4 separate regions of the Homo sapiens genome follow, and regions 2, 3 and 4 are each linked to region 1. Evidence: promoter capture Hi-C in 16 types of primary human blood cells and fetal thymus (Javierre and others, 2016). All regions are on one chromosome and are shown on one strand. Each heading gives the region's core, a stretch centred on a gene start or on the middle of the fragment in contact. The rest is flanking DNA. Distances are from core to core; before and after follow the strand shown. Region 1 holds the start of STOML2 (stomatin like 2). Region 2 holds the start of KIF24 (kinesin family member 24). Region 3 overlaps NPR2 (natriuretic peptide receptor 2). Region 4 overlaps TLN1 (talin 1).

The links. The method cuts DNA at HindIII sites, captures the fragments that hold promoters and counts their contacts. A CHiCAGO score of 5 or more calls a contact.
Region 2: the fragment with the promoter of KIF24 here is called in contact with the fragment with the promoter of STOML2 in region 1 in 1 of 17 cell types (monocytes); the score reaches 6.8 in monocytes.
Region 3: a contact is called between a fragment that was not itself captured here and the fragment with the promoter of STOML2 in region 1, in 1 of 17 cell types (naive CD8 T cells). The highest score is 5.3, in naive CD8 T cells.
Region 4: a contact is called between a fragment that was not itself captured here and the fragment with the promoter of STOML2 in region 1, in 1 of 17 cell types (M2 macrophages). The highest score is 5.3, in M2 macrophages.

Annotation. Positions count from the first base shown.
Region 1 is chr9:35,101,710-35,104,808 of GRCh38, forward strand. STOML2 (stomatin like 2) reads right to left here and starts at 1,422. Exons shown (of 10, transcript NM_013442.3): 1 at 1,341-1,422; 2 at 977-1,114; 3 at 386-485; 4 at 195-253; 5 at 1-102. The coding sequence starts at 1,385. ATOSB (atos homolog B) reads right to left here. Exons shown (of 9, transcript NM_025182.4): 9 at 2,408-3,099. It also overlaps a transcript of PIGO-AS1 not described here. RefSeq lists enhancers at 800-1,059, 1,190-1,459, 1,470-1,519, 1,640-1,689. The HindIII fragment of the contact is 2,738 bases long and covers 129-2,866 here.
Region 2 is chr9:34,327,772-34,330,870 of GRCh38, forward strand. KIF24 (kinesin family member 24) reads right to left here and starts at 1,497. Exons shown (of 13, transcript NM_194313.4): 1 at 1,335-1,497. NUDT2 (nudix hydrolase 2) reads left to right here and starts at 1,798. Exons shown (of 5, transcript NM_001161.5): 1 at 1,798-1,828. RefSeq lists enhancers at 1,164-1,223, 1,324-1,423, 1,511-2,018, 1,554-1,743. The HindIII fragment of the contact is 30,936 bases long and covers 1-3,099 here.
Region 3 is chr9:35,808,588-35,811,549 of GRCh38, forward strand. NPR2 (natriuretic peptide receptor 2) reads left to right here. Exons shown (of 22, transcript NM_003995.4): 19 at 1-96; 20 at 168-266; 21 at 569-660; 22 at 793-1,144. The coding sequence ends at 858. It overlaps SPAG8 (sperm associated antigen 8), which reads right to left. Exons shown (of 7, transcript NM_001039592.2): 2 at 2,595-2,962; 3 at 2,296-2,470; 4 at 2,050-2,095; 5 at 1,852-1,966; 6 at 1,660-1,722; 7 at 1,208-1,545. The coding sequence ends at 1,351. Among named protein-coding and RNA genes, the nearest start is that of SPAG8, 2.2 kb to the right of the region's middle. The HindIII fragment of the contact is 2,809 bases long and covers 1-2,655 here.
Region 4 is chr9:35,695,053-35,698,151 of GRCh38, forward strand. It overlaps TLN1 (talin 1), which reads right to left. Exons shown (of 57, transcript NM_006289.4): 56 at 2,992-3,099; 57 at 1,896-2,864. The coding sequence ends at 2,739. Among named protein-coding and RNA genes, the nearest start is that of TPM2, 6.7 kb to the left of the region's middle. The HindIII fragment of the contact is 503 bases long and covers 1,406-1,908 here.

The DNA of each region.
Region 1 (3,099 bases), core at 172-2,671:
CCGGAAGACTTTGTCCAGAGAGAGTTTGCCGAGCTCTGATCTCATGGTTGTTTGAGCTAGCTGGGTGACGGCATACTCAGGGTCCTCCACACCGTAGCTTGCCTGAGATGGACACGGATAGTGTAAGAAGCTTGGGCACAAGATTTTAGTGAAGAGGGCAACTCAAAAGGCTGGATAAAGTAGGGGACAGGTACCTTGTAAGGGTCCATGATGCGCAGGTAAAGGACTCCATCGATTTGCAGAGTTACATTGTCTGTAGAACCAGGAGAGAAAACGGGGAAAGTCAGGCCTCTAGGTCCCAACCAGTTCTTTCTACTAAGCTCTGGATCTACAGCAACCACATCCTAATAGCCTCAGAGCACCCATGTCACCCTGAACCCCTCACCGAGAGTCACAGCCGACTGCTCAGGCACGTTGATGACAATTTCCTTGAGACTCTGCACATATCGGATCCGGTCTAACACAGGGATGAGGATGTTCAAACCCTGGAAAGAGGAGTCATGGGTCCTCAGAAGGCTGGGAACTATTGGGTTGGGACCTAAGCTAGTCCTGGAGTATGTAGGGAGTCAACACATGGAACATGCCCAGAAAAGCAGCAGCTCCTACCAAGAAATAAGTCCTCAGAAGGCTGAGGTGTCACTGGTAAGAAAACCCAAGAGAACAGGAATGCAAGACTAGGCCCCTGAATGGAGGGGAGAGTCATGAGAATCGGAGCCAGCAGAATAGCCATCTCTATGCAGACTGAGAGGTAGGGCTGAGAGTGGGCAGGGGAGATTCCCAAGAATGGGGCCTGTGAGATGCATAGGAAAAGGTGGTAACATGGGGATGATGGTCAGCAGCCTGGGCCCTGTCAGGTCTGGCCTACAGAGTCGGGAGCTAACAGTGCGGGCAGGCCCAAAGGAAGTCCTCCCGACATTGCATGTCGTGAGGGATTGGTCATCTGGCTGGCCCAGGGTGGGCAGAAGAGGTTTCTCACAGGCTCCAGGATCCGGTGGAATCGGCCCATTCGCTCCACCACCCAGGCCTCCTGCTGCGGCACGAACAGTACCACGGTGTTTCGGGGCAATCCAGAGGAGGCGCGGCGCGGAGCGCGGCCAGAAGCCAGTAGAGAGCCCTGAAGGAAAGAAGAGGGTGAGCAGAGATCCCATCTGGCCAGACACGCCGCCCCTCGGTCCTGAAGGCATCTCCATAAACCACGACCCTCAGGATCCTCGGAGAATCACATGGGGACCATGACCTCTGACCCCAGTCCTCTCCAAAAGTTGGAATTTCGCTCTTTTCCAGCGGAGAACCCAGGTAATCTCTGTCCTGACCCTCTGGAAAGGTTGCCTCGCTCTCACCCTCAGCAAAAGGGCCCCAGTGCCCCGCGCCGCGCGCGCCAGCATTTCCCACCGCCGCAGCGACCTCCGGAACCAACGAGACGAGCGGAGCGGTCGCTCCCAGAAGCCTACCCGAGCCTTTCCTCTTGCAGTTCCGCTCCCCCGGATGTACTTCCGGCAGCTCCCTCCCCCGCTTCAACACTCACCCAATCAGCGTTACTTGGTCGAACGGCGCGTCAAGTTGTTCCCTGGGAAACGCAGACCTTCTAGAGAAGGGCGAAGGCTGTGGTTGTTCTGGGTTTAGCTGTTCACGCCGAAGATCCCCGGCCTGATGGCCAAAATGGAGGCTATTTTTCGCGGGCATTATCACTCAGACACCACGCACTGAATTATTCGTCCTCACCCGAGACTCAGTTTGCCCACCAGAGCGTAGTATCGCCCCCATCTGTCACCATAGCGACTAGTGGATTGGAGCTGACTCGTTGCCATGGTTGCCATAGTGATATTCTCTGGTAGTCCCGCTGTGTTGTGCCCAGGACTCCCACTGGGGACTGACCCCAATCCCGTTGCCATGGAAACTGGGCCTAATATTGCCTGGCGATTGGGCCGAGATTTTCCCCTCCCCTCTTTCCTCAAAGACACTGCAGCTCCTTCCCTGTCTTCCCAAGCAAGGTTTGTTATGCCCGGTCTTAAATACAGTCCAGCAAACAGCCTCAACGTTCAACCTTGTCTGGAGCATGTCACCTTGCCCACATCCCTAATGCTCTGGTAGTCAAGAGACCTCCGTAGTCACCTCCATTTTACATATGAGGGCACTGAAGTTCTGAGGGGCTAAAGTCATTAATAGAACCAGTATTAGAATCCTGATCTACAATTCAGAGTTCAGCTTCTACGGCTGAACTTTACCCACCAACCCCTCCGAAAGGAGAAAAACCAGGCCCCAGGAATCAGCAGGGACTAGCCTAAGACCTCATGGGCCCAGGCCTGTTGCCTCTCTGGTAGAAAGGGCTGAGTCCCAGCTCCAGGAAGGCCCTCCATCCCCCTTCACACCCTCTCCCCAACAACAACAACAACAACAAAAGTAGAGCTTAGTTCAAGTTTCCAAACAAGAATTTATTCTTTCTTTTTTAATCTTTTTTTCTAAAAAAAAGTACCAGGTACAATTTTTTCCTGTTTTTGATTTGCTTTGTTTTTTCAAGTTTCAGCAAATGCTTGTTCCCCTCAGCCCAGCCCCAGGAGTTAGGACTGAGGCTGGGTCAGAGTCTGGAGTGGGGAATGGGGTAGTTTGGAACCACATGACTGAGTTTGAGGGGTGCCCCTCACCCCAGCTGAGGTAGGTGGGTCAGAGTCTGGCCAGGTGAGAGGAGGCACCCCAGTGCTTGGCCCTGACTCTGCCCCCTGGACACCTTCTTCAGTCAGGACCCCAAAACAAGGAGACACAGGTAGGAGGAGAGGGACAACTGGAGTCTGGAGCCCTAGGTGAGGGGTGGTTAACCCCTGTGTGTGTGCATACATGCACACTCACACACACATACCACACAAAGACAAGCTTGTGCACACACACATACGCATAACTTGGCTTTCAGAGATAGGTCAGAGGGTAGGGGAAGTGAAGGGACTGGGGAAGGACAGGGGAAGCTGAGTCTTTGGCTACTGACTCAGTCCCTCTGGAATAGCCCCTCTTCCCTCAGCTGAGGGAAAGCAGTTCTCCTCCTGCCCCCACCGCATAAGCCTCTTCAACTCCTGAGGTTGGAGCAATATCTGAGAGTGGGAAGCGGGG
Region 2 (3,099 bases), core at 247-2,746, 770 kb before region 1:
CTGCGGTGAGCTATTATCATGCTAGTGCACTACAGCCTGGGTGACAGAGCAAGACATTTTCTCTAATAAAAAAAAAATAATAATAATAATAAAGGGACTAAATGACTTGCAAAGCCACCCACAGTGAATTAGAGACAGAGACAGAGCCAAAGCCAAACCCACATGTAGTGGGTTTCCACTACATGTCACAGCTATAAGGTAGTGTTTCAAACTTTTATAAAAGGGTAACAAGAACATAGCTGCTGTACTGAACTTTTTCACTCCTTTTATTAAGGCCACCAGTGAGCTATGAATTTGATATAAGGAGCAATCACACCAACAATCAGGCTGTGAATATATAATCCATGAGTTAACAACGAAACAGTCTTAGGAACGCAATTCTATCATAGACACCTGATGAATAGATGGAGTTCACCTGAGCAGCTGTTATATGCACTTCAATAGAGAGACTACAAAGCCTCTCTACTTGTAGAATACAAGTACAAAGAAGATGCTTTAAAACATTTTCCAAAGCACACTTAAAATGTGACAATAGCTGCCGGTCACTAAGAAGCTAAAGGGAGATAAATTATCTTGGCATACAGCAACAGAATGGTTTATTTTAAGCAAAGACTAAAAGGAGTCTAATAAAATTATTGGGAGACCAAGGCTAAAAGCCACAGATGCAGGAAGAGTTGCAGCAACCAATCCAAAAAAGTTTAGCCTTTCACAAAGAGTAGAAAGGCCAGCTGTGGACTGTGTGTGGACTTTTAGGTCCTTTTGCATTGAAGATTAGGGTGGCCTCCCCCTAGCCTCGAAATAAAAAATCGTCTCTGAAGCAGAGAGACAACAAGGCAGGGCATGAAGAGGAATCCAATCTATTTCTTGTAAATTAAATTCAACTCAACAAATATTTCCTGAAAATCTACTATGTGCAAGACATTGTGAACGATGCTTGCCTTACCTCAAAGGCTTCAAAATTTTATGGGAAAAGGGAAGCGAACGGGCTTCCCGGAAGTAAACAACCCAAGGGCGAATAGAAATGCCCTAAAAGAGGTGCCGGTCAGGCTTATCGGTTCAAAAGCAAGAAGGCTTTGGGACTCAAGAGTTTAGTCTCCCAAAGTGAGAGAAGTGGCGTTCAAGATAATTGCTGAAGAAAAGGCAGAGATATGGGGATGAAAGATAGGAAAGTAGGTGAACTTTAGGAAGAGCCAAGAGGGGCCAACTCTCGGTTCCCTCACAACTGCCAGTTTCCTCCCGCGCTCAGCCGACGTCACGCGCACCCGTGTCCGCGGGCAGGCGCCACGGTTCCGGACCAGACCTACCCCTCCTCTATTCTCCCCGCCCTTTCTCACCTCGGTCCAAACTCCTCGGTCTGCCCTGTCTGAGAAGAGGAGAAGACAATGCCGTCGGGAGTGAGCCCCAAAGCCCGCAACCTAACAGTCCCGTCAACCCGGGAGCCACCGGCGGCGGCCAGGCCGCATCTCCATGGCAACGCCGCCAAGCGCCAGTTCGAACGCCCGCGCTGTGGCCCGCGCGTCGCCAGTCCCGCACCGCCCACCAATGGGCATCCAAGGAATCGGTTGACGTTCGTTGACTTCTCCTCTGGAAGACCAATCAGAGGTCTGAAGAAACCGTGGGCGTAACTCTCAATTTCCGACCTTCAGCCAATCGTTCCGCTTGAGGGAAGATCTCGCGACGTTTCAGTGTGAGACGCGCACCTTTGAGGCGGGTCGAAGATCCTTCTGCCGAATTCTATTGATGGGCCCAAGCGTAACCAGGCTCTTCTGATTGGCCGGTGTACTTCAGTTTCCGTCCAAGGTCCGCCTCCTACCTCCTTCTGCTTCGGGTGAGTACCCTTAAGGGCCCACTTGATTTTAGTTCTCAGTGGAGGAAATGAGCCTTGGAGCGATGGGAATCTGCCTCTGGCAAACCTCTGGTCGCTGCAGGGCCCGAGAGGGATGCGCCCTCCTCTAAGTTGGCAGTGAGGTGTGGGCAGGCCAGGTCCCATCCGCTCTCAGGACCTCAGTTTTCCTGTCTGCACCGGGAGAAGGGAGGTTCCCTGACTCTGAGCCTTGCTTGTCCCCGTCGGAGTGGGGATAGGGTGGGTCGTCCAAATCCCAGAGGCGGGAGAGGTCCAGGTTTAGGGCCCAGAGGCCCAGGCGCCGAACCTTCCCCTCCCTGGGCCTCAGTTTCACTTGTTGCTACCCATTAAACCCCGCCTGCTTTCCAAAAGAGATTTTATGTTTTCTAATTGCTTCAGTTATTGAATGGATAATATCGTGGCAGTTATAGCAGAAGTAAAGAAAGTCGAACAAGAGCCCCACCGCCTTAAACAAACAAACAAAAAAGGGACAGCGTAAACAATGCAGGCCGGGTGCGGTGGCTCACGCCTGTAATCCCAGCATTTTGGGAGGCCAAGGCGGGCGGATCACGAGGTCAGGAGATCGAGACCATCCTGGCTAACACGGTGAAACCCCGTCTCTACTAAACAAAATACAAAAGTTAGCCAGGCGTCGTGGCGGGCACGTATAGTCCCTGCTACTCGGGAGGCTGAGGCAGGAGAATGGCATGAACCCAGGAGGCGGAGCTTGCAGTGAGCGGAGGTCGCGCCACTGCACTCCAGCCTGGGCGACAGAGCGAGACTCCGTCTCAAAAACAAAACAAAACAAAAAAAAACTGAATGCAATCAAATTGTCAAATGTAAAACGCTATTATAGAGTTAAGGTTAAGATCATTGATGTTAGGAGTCAGGCAGACCTACATTTGAGTCACTTACCCAGACATCTCTGAGCTATAGTTCCCTTTCTACTCTTCTGAAAAATGGCAGTAATGCCTCAGCGGGTTGTTGTGAAGATTAAGTGAAATAATGAAGGTAAAGCACTTGACACAACGCCTGGCGAGTAGTAACTTCTTAAAAAATGGTAGCGGCCGGGCGCGGTGGCTCACGCCTGTAATCCTAGCCCTTTGGGAGGCCGAGGCGGGCGGATCACGAGGTCAGGAGATCGAGACCATCCTGGCTGACACGGTGAAACCCCGTCTCTACTAAAAACACAAAAAATTAGCCGGGCGTGGTGGCGGGCGCCTGTGGTCCCAGCTACTCGGGAGGCTGAGGCAGGA
Region 3 (2,962 bases), core at 1-2,500, 710 kb after region 1:
CTCGTATGGCCCTAGCATTACTAGATGCAGTTTCTTCCTTTCGCATCCGCCACCGACCCCATGACCAGCTGAGGCTACGCATAGGGGTCCATACTGGTAAGGCTGACTCTCACTCCAGCCCTAGTCTCCACCTTTCCCAGACTCTCCCAACCTGTTTCTTCTCAAAGGGCCAGTCTGTGCTGGGGTTGTTGGCCTGAAGATGCCCCGTTATTGTCTTTTTGGAGACACAGTGAACACTGCTTCTCGAATGGAGTCTAATGGTCAAGGTAAGACATTAGCCCTCAACCCCACTGTTGGCCTCAATTTATCTTGCCCTTTTCTTCTTTTCATAATCCCTCCAATTTCTTAATCTGAGAGACCACAGTTCCTTAGTGTCGCATCCTCGGGCATATTTTGGTTCTAATAGATATGCATTGGGAGGTTGGGCATATTTTGGTCCTAATAGATATGCATTGGGAGCTTCCCAGGGATGGTTGGTCGGGCACGGTGCTATACAGTATCACCAATTATTTGATTGCCTTTTCTTTGATTCCTCATTCCACCATCCTCCCCATTCCACCCACCCCAGCGCTGAAGATCCATGTCTCCTCTACCACCAAGGATGCCCTAGATGAGCTAGGATGCTTCCAGCTAGAGCTTCGGGGGGATGTGGAAATGAAGGTGATGGCAGGCCATGGGGAGGGGGGCATGGAAAGGGAGGGTGAAAGTGATTATGGGAATCATAGGGAAAGAGAGGGAGACAAAGGGACTAACATCGAAGCATCTGAATCATGTCCACTCTCCCACTTCCAGGGAAAAGGAAAGATGCGAACATACTGGCTCTTAGGAGAGCGGAAAGGACCTCCTGGACTCCTGTAAACCCCCATTCTTTCCAAGTCAGATAGTCTTCTGCTGCTGGTACCTGGGTGGGCAATGGCCACCATGTCTGCACACACCAGAAATGGACATTTTCATATGCAATGGAAAACAGCCACAAAAAAACCTACCTTATATGGAAGTTGTAGCCCTCTGCAGCTCAGCCCTGTACATATACCTGTCCCTCTCTGGCTTGGTCCCCTTCCTCCCTACTTTCTGTAAATATCTGTATCTAAACCAGAATATTTTGGTCAAATATAAAACAATAATAAAAAAAGTTCTGATGTCATAGTGTGGGATAGGGGCAATCCCAAGGAAAGGTTATGGGGTATGCACACAGTGACTCACAGAATCACTAAATTAGCAGTCTTGGGATGAGAGAGAACCCTTTATGTAAAGCCTCTTCAAGTACAGTGAGAATTAACTTCCTCCCGACCTCTCTAGTGCAGACAGAAATAGATTCCATATTCCATACCCCACTTCCCTCCTCACCCCTCAGAAAGGAGTCATTCTCCCCCCTCCACCACCCAGCCTTCCTCCGGGACAGGGAAGGGAAGATATTTCTCCCAATTGGTAGGGGTAATTCTCAGGTTCATAGGGCAAAAGTTTCCCCAGAGACAAGGGTACTGGTGTTGAGAAGCTGCAGTTCTTCCGGAATGGTGTGTCCAATGTCCTGATGTTACTGACACCCTGGAGGAGTGCCAGGATGAGGATGGATCCCACTCTCCCCAAGCCAGAACAAAACAACTCTGCCCTACCTTTCCTGCCCCGCTCTGCCCCCAACACCTAGTCACCCTCACACACCGGCAGCTGTGGTGCCCTCTGTATCCAGAAGGTCTCAGGTTGCTCCTGGCGGTAGTCGTGAGGCTGTGAGGGAGGGTACTGAGTAACTCCTGGCCTTCAGCCCTCTCTCTCAACCTCTGGGCTTGGTACTTGGCCACAGCCTGTCAGAGCCCAGCTGGTGCAAGTGGCGGGGGATGGGGGGTGGGTTCTCACCTTTGTTGGGGCAGGAGTCCCTGCTTGTGCCAGCTCCATTCGGTAGTCATGGTGTGTCACAGACTCAACCTCGAAGAGCTTCCTTGTGGGTTCCTGTTCTGCCTGCACCTCTTTACTATGTAGCCCGAGGGGTGTCAAGGCCATTCTCACCCAATTTTTCTCCTCCCCATCCCTCTTCCCCTTTACCCAATCCCTTACCAGATCTGATGCTGCAGGAGCATCTCCAGCATGGCTTCACGCTTCCCTGTGAGAGAGTTGGGGGGTGGGCAAGGTGGGGTCTGGTTAAGAAGGAGGCCCAGAAGAAACTAACTTGAGAAAAGGAAGAAGAACCTTGGGGTTCCGCCCTTATATCCACTGGAGAATCCACAGCCCCACCAGAAATTCCTTCCTCTTCTTCCCTCTGAGTAATGGGCTCGTTCTGGCCTACCCTCTCACATTTCACACCTCGAAGTGGCCAATAGACGTTTCCTGGTGGCTGGTACGAGTCTTTCTGGGTGGTGCTGGAGGGCATGGGTGACTTTAGTTGCATAGTCAGCAGTCCCCGGTGTCCGTGTCGGAAGAAAAAACTCTCAGAGCCATCCTGCATGCTTGGGACTTGATCCAGGTGGTTGGTGGCTCTCTGTGGATCCCAAGTTGAATGACTATAATATCCCTTCTGGTACCCACCCTCATGTAAACTACTGCCTCCCCTAAGAAACTGAGGGCAGCCTTCAAGAAAAGGGAGCAGGCCAAAACTTTAATACCTCTTCCTCCCAGTTGTAGAGGAGGCACTGGCCCCGCGGCAAAGTTTCATAGCAAACCATAAGCTTCCCTTTAATGTCTGGGGGTTTCCATAGTCCTCGGGCACCCGGTTCTAAGACTTGCAAAAATTCCCAAGGTGGTTGTTTCTGGGGCTCCCAGGGGCAGTGCTGACTCCAGGAGGTATAGTTAGGGACCCGATCTGCCACCAGGTTTCTGAACCCTGGAGGAATACAGGGGCTGAGCTCAGAGTCAGGGCCAGTGTCTGGACCAGGCCCAGAGGCAGGACCAGGATGAGAGCCAGAGCCATGACCAGGACCAGAGCCAGGACCAGAGCCAGGACCAGGACCAGAGCCAGAGCCAGGGACAGAGC
Region 4 (3,099 bases), core at 407-2,906, 590 kb after region 1:
AATCTGATAACCACAGTTTGTCGGCCATTCTTTTGAGTAAACGTGGCATTCCATAAAAGAGCAGCTAGTTCAGCTCACAACTCAAAGAATGGCCTAAGTTATTTCCTCCAGAAAACCATCATACTTTGGTATGCAAAATGTCTTATGCATACTTCCCACTTTATCAGACAGAATGTTGAAAAGCCTTTTCCTTAAGGATTAAGGTTTAATTAAATTAATACATTTAGGCTGGGCGTGGTGGCTCACGCCTGTAATCCCAGCACTTTGGGAGCCTGAGGCAGGCAGATCATGAGGTCAGGAGTTCAAGACCAGTCTGGCCAACATGGTGAAACCCTGTCTCTACTAAAAATACAAAAATTAGCTGGGCATGATGGCATGTGCCTGTAATCCCAGCTTCTCGGGAGGCTGAGGCAGGAGAATTGCTTGAACCGGGACACAGGAGGTGGAGGTTGCAGTGAGCCGAGATCACGCCACTACACTCCAGCCTGGGCTACAGACCGAGACTCCGTCTCAAAAAAAAAAAAAAATTTTTTTTTTTTACTTCATCAAGGACATTTTTTTTGAGTCTTGCTCTGTTGCCCAGGCTGGAGTGCAGTGGCGTGATCTTGGCTCACTGCAACCTCCGCATCACAGGTTCAAGCAATTCTGGTGCCTCAGCCTCCCAAGTAGCTGGGAATTACAGGTGTGCACCACCATCCCCAGCTAAGGAAAATAATGTCTTGGTATTTTTATGAAAATAATTTTGACCTATGGACCCCTGAAAAGGTCTTAGGGAACCCTAGGGGTCTGAGGACCACATTTGAAGAGCTGCTGGTTTAATAGGTTTTAAAGCCTCTCCCCAGATGGCTCCCAAGGTATCACTAGTGAGAAGTATGTGATTGGTCCCAGTTCCTGAGGACATGACAAGGAAATGGTAACAGGAGTAAGCAGCTGTCCTGGGCTCCTAGCTGGAGTTCAAAGTCTAGACTGCCACTTGTCGGGGAGGTTATAGAAGGGATTTGATCTCCAAGGTCCTCAACTGATACTATGACATTGAATCTGGGATTAGGGAGCCCCCACAGTATGTACTGGAGTTGCCAGTCCTCTGCGTCAGAGAAGTGATAATACATCTCAATTTTCCAGTGCTTAGCACAAGCATGGCTTAGTAAATATTGAATGAATGAATCACAGGTGATAGGAGTGATGGTAGGAGGTTGGCACCATCCCTAATGGGCTGTCCTAGAGTTCCATCTACTTTCTTAGAGAAGGGCTCTCACTCCGTCACCCAGGCTGGTGCACAGTGGCACCATCATAGCTCACTGCAGCCTTGAACTCCTGGTCTCAAGCAGTCCTCCTGCCTCAGCCTTTTAAGTAGCTGGGATTAGAGGCTCGAACCACCGTTACCAGCTACATTCCATCTACTTCAAGCTTTCCCTAATGTGGTGGGAGTAGAAGGTGTTAGTAGCAGATGGGTGGCGTTTGTGTTCTACTTGAGGAAATAATGTACTGGGCGGTAGGGCTGACTAAAGAATCACGCATGAAAATAGTTGCCAACCTAAGACGACTGTCAGAGAGTCCATGCATTATGGACAGAGTGGCTGGATGGGGACGTGGAAGCACACAGCATCCACCTCTCTGACTGCCTCTTTCCACTGACCCACCAGATAAGCAGGGTGGCTGGAACAGGGCTGCTAGCACCTTCCTGGCCACTAGGGGAGCTCTGCCCCCTCTAACAATAAATTCTCACACCTGGGTCAAGCTCTTCACTTTTAGCGCTACCCTAGGCAGGAGTGTCCCAACCCAATCAAGAGCGGTGCCTACCCGAGGCAGCCTCAAGTTGGGATTTTTCTGCTTGCTAATGGCTTCAATCAGTTTTGTGGCCATAGTTCTCTTAGGCTCAGACACTTACAGGCATATTATTTTTAGCAAAGCTTCTTTTGAAAATTTGAATTTGGTCAAGGACTGGATTTGTTGACATACCCTGAGTAGCTATGAAGAACAGAATGTCCTGGTAGCCACAAGGAACTGTGGTAGCTGCTGTCCCAGCAGCAGCAGAACGACACTTTGTGAGGCTTAGGTGCTGGCCAGGGAGGTGAGGATAACAGGAGTATGACTTCTCAGGCACAACTTCCCCATTGGATAACTTTAGGGTCCGGGTGCAAGGAGGAAGGGACCTCAGGTGCAGACTGCCAGTCTTCCCCTCTCCCATTTCAAGCTGGATCAAGCTGGGTGACAGAATTCAACCCCACTGTCTCTCCTACTGCCCTGGGAGAAAACTTGTATCTCCCTTGAAGCCAGGCAGAGGTTGTAGGTAGAATCATTTTTATTGGAGCATGACCTGTTTGGGGCTTATAACTCTGCAGCCCCTATGGGTAGCTGGGGGTGGGGGAAGATAGTATCAAAAAACGGTGAAGAGAGCTGATGAGGCTGTGGGGACTGGCCGGAAGCTGCTGGCAGGGTGGAGTGGGCTGGGGCCCCGGCAGATTCAGATCGAGGTACAGCAGCGTTAATAATACTCTTGGAGCGTTAATACTCTGGGGAGGGGCAGGCACTTGGGGGGCCCTAGGGCATGAAGGCACTTGGGGTTGGGGAGGGGACAGGGGATGTACTGCGGGACTGGGCGGGGCCAGGCCCTGGGGTTTGGCAGGCACTTTGGGGAGTGCTGGGGTTGGGCAGGTTGGGCCCCGACAGCCCAGAAGGCTTTGGTAGTGGCACGCACAGTCTCTGGGCCGGGTCTGCATTAAATAGAAGAGGCTTCTTTAGTGCTCATCTCGAAGCTCTGAAGGCAGAAACTTGTACTGCTGCTGCCGGATCTGGGCCAGTTTCTTCCGCGCCTCTTCCAGCTCTCGTTCCTTCCGAAGCATTTCTTCCTGTGCTGCGATGATCTGAGGGTGGAGATCGGGGACTTAGTTCAGTGAGGATGCACAGCAGGGGCATAGGGTAGTTGGGACCAGCGCAGGCAACATGACTGCCCTCCTGACAGCGTCCCTCAGCATCTGGGGTGAAGCTCACCTGGGCAATGCCGCCAACCATCTTCTCTTTCACCACCACTGTCTCATTCTCCTGCTCTTCAAAGGCTGCAGCCTTCTGTGCTGCTTTCACCAGATTATCTGAGGCTCG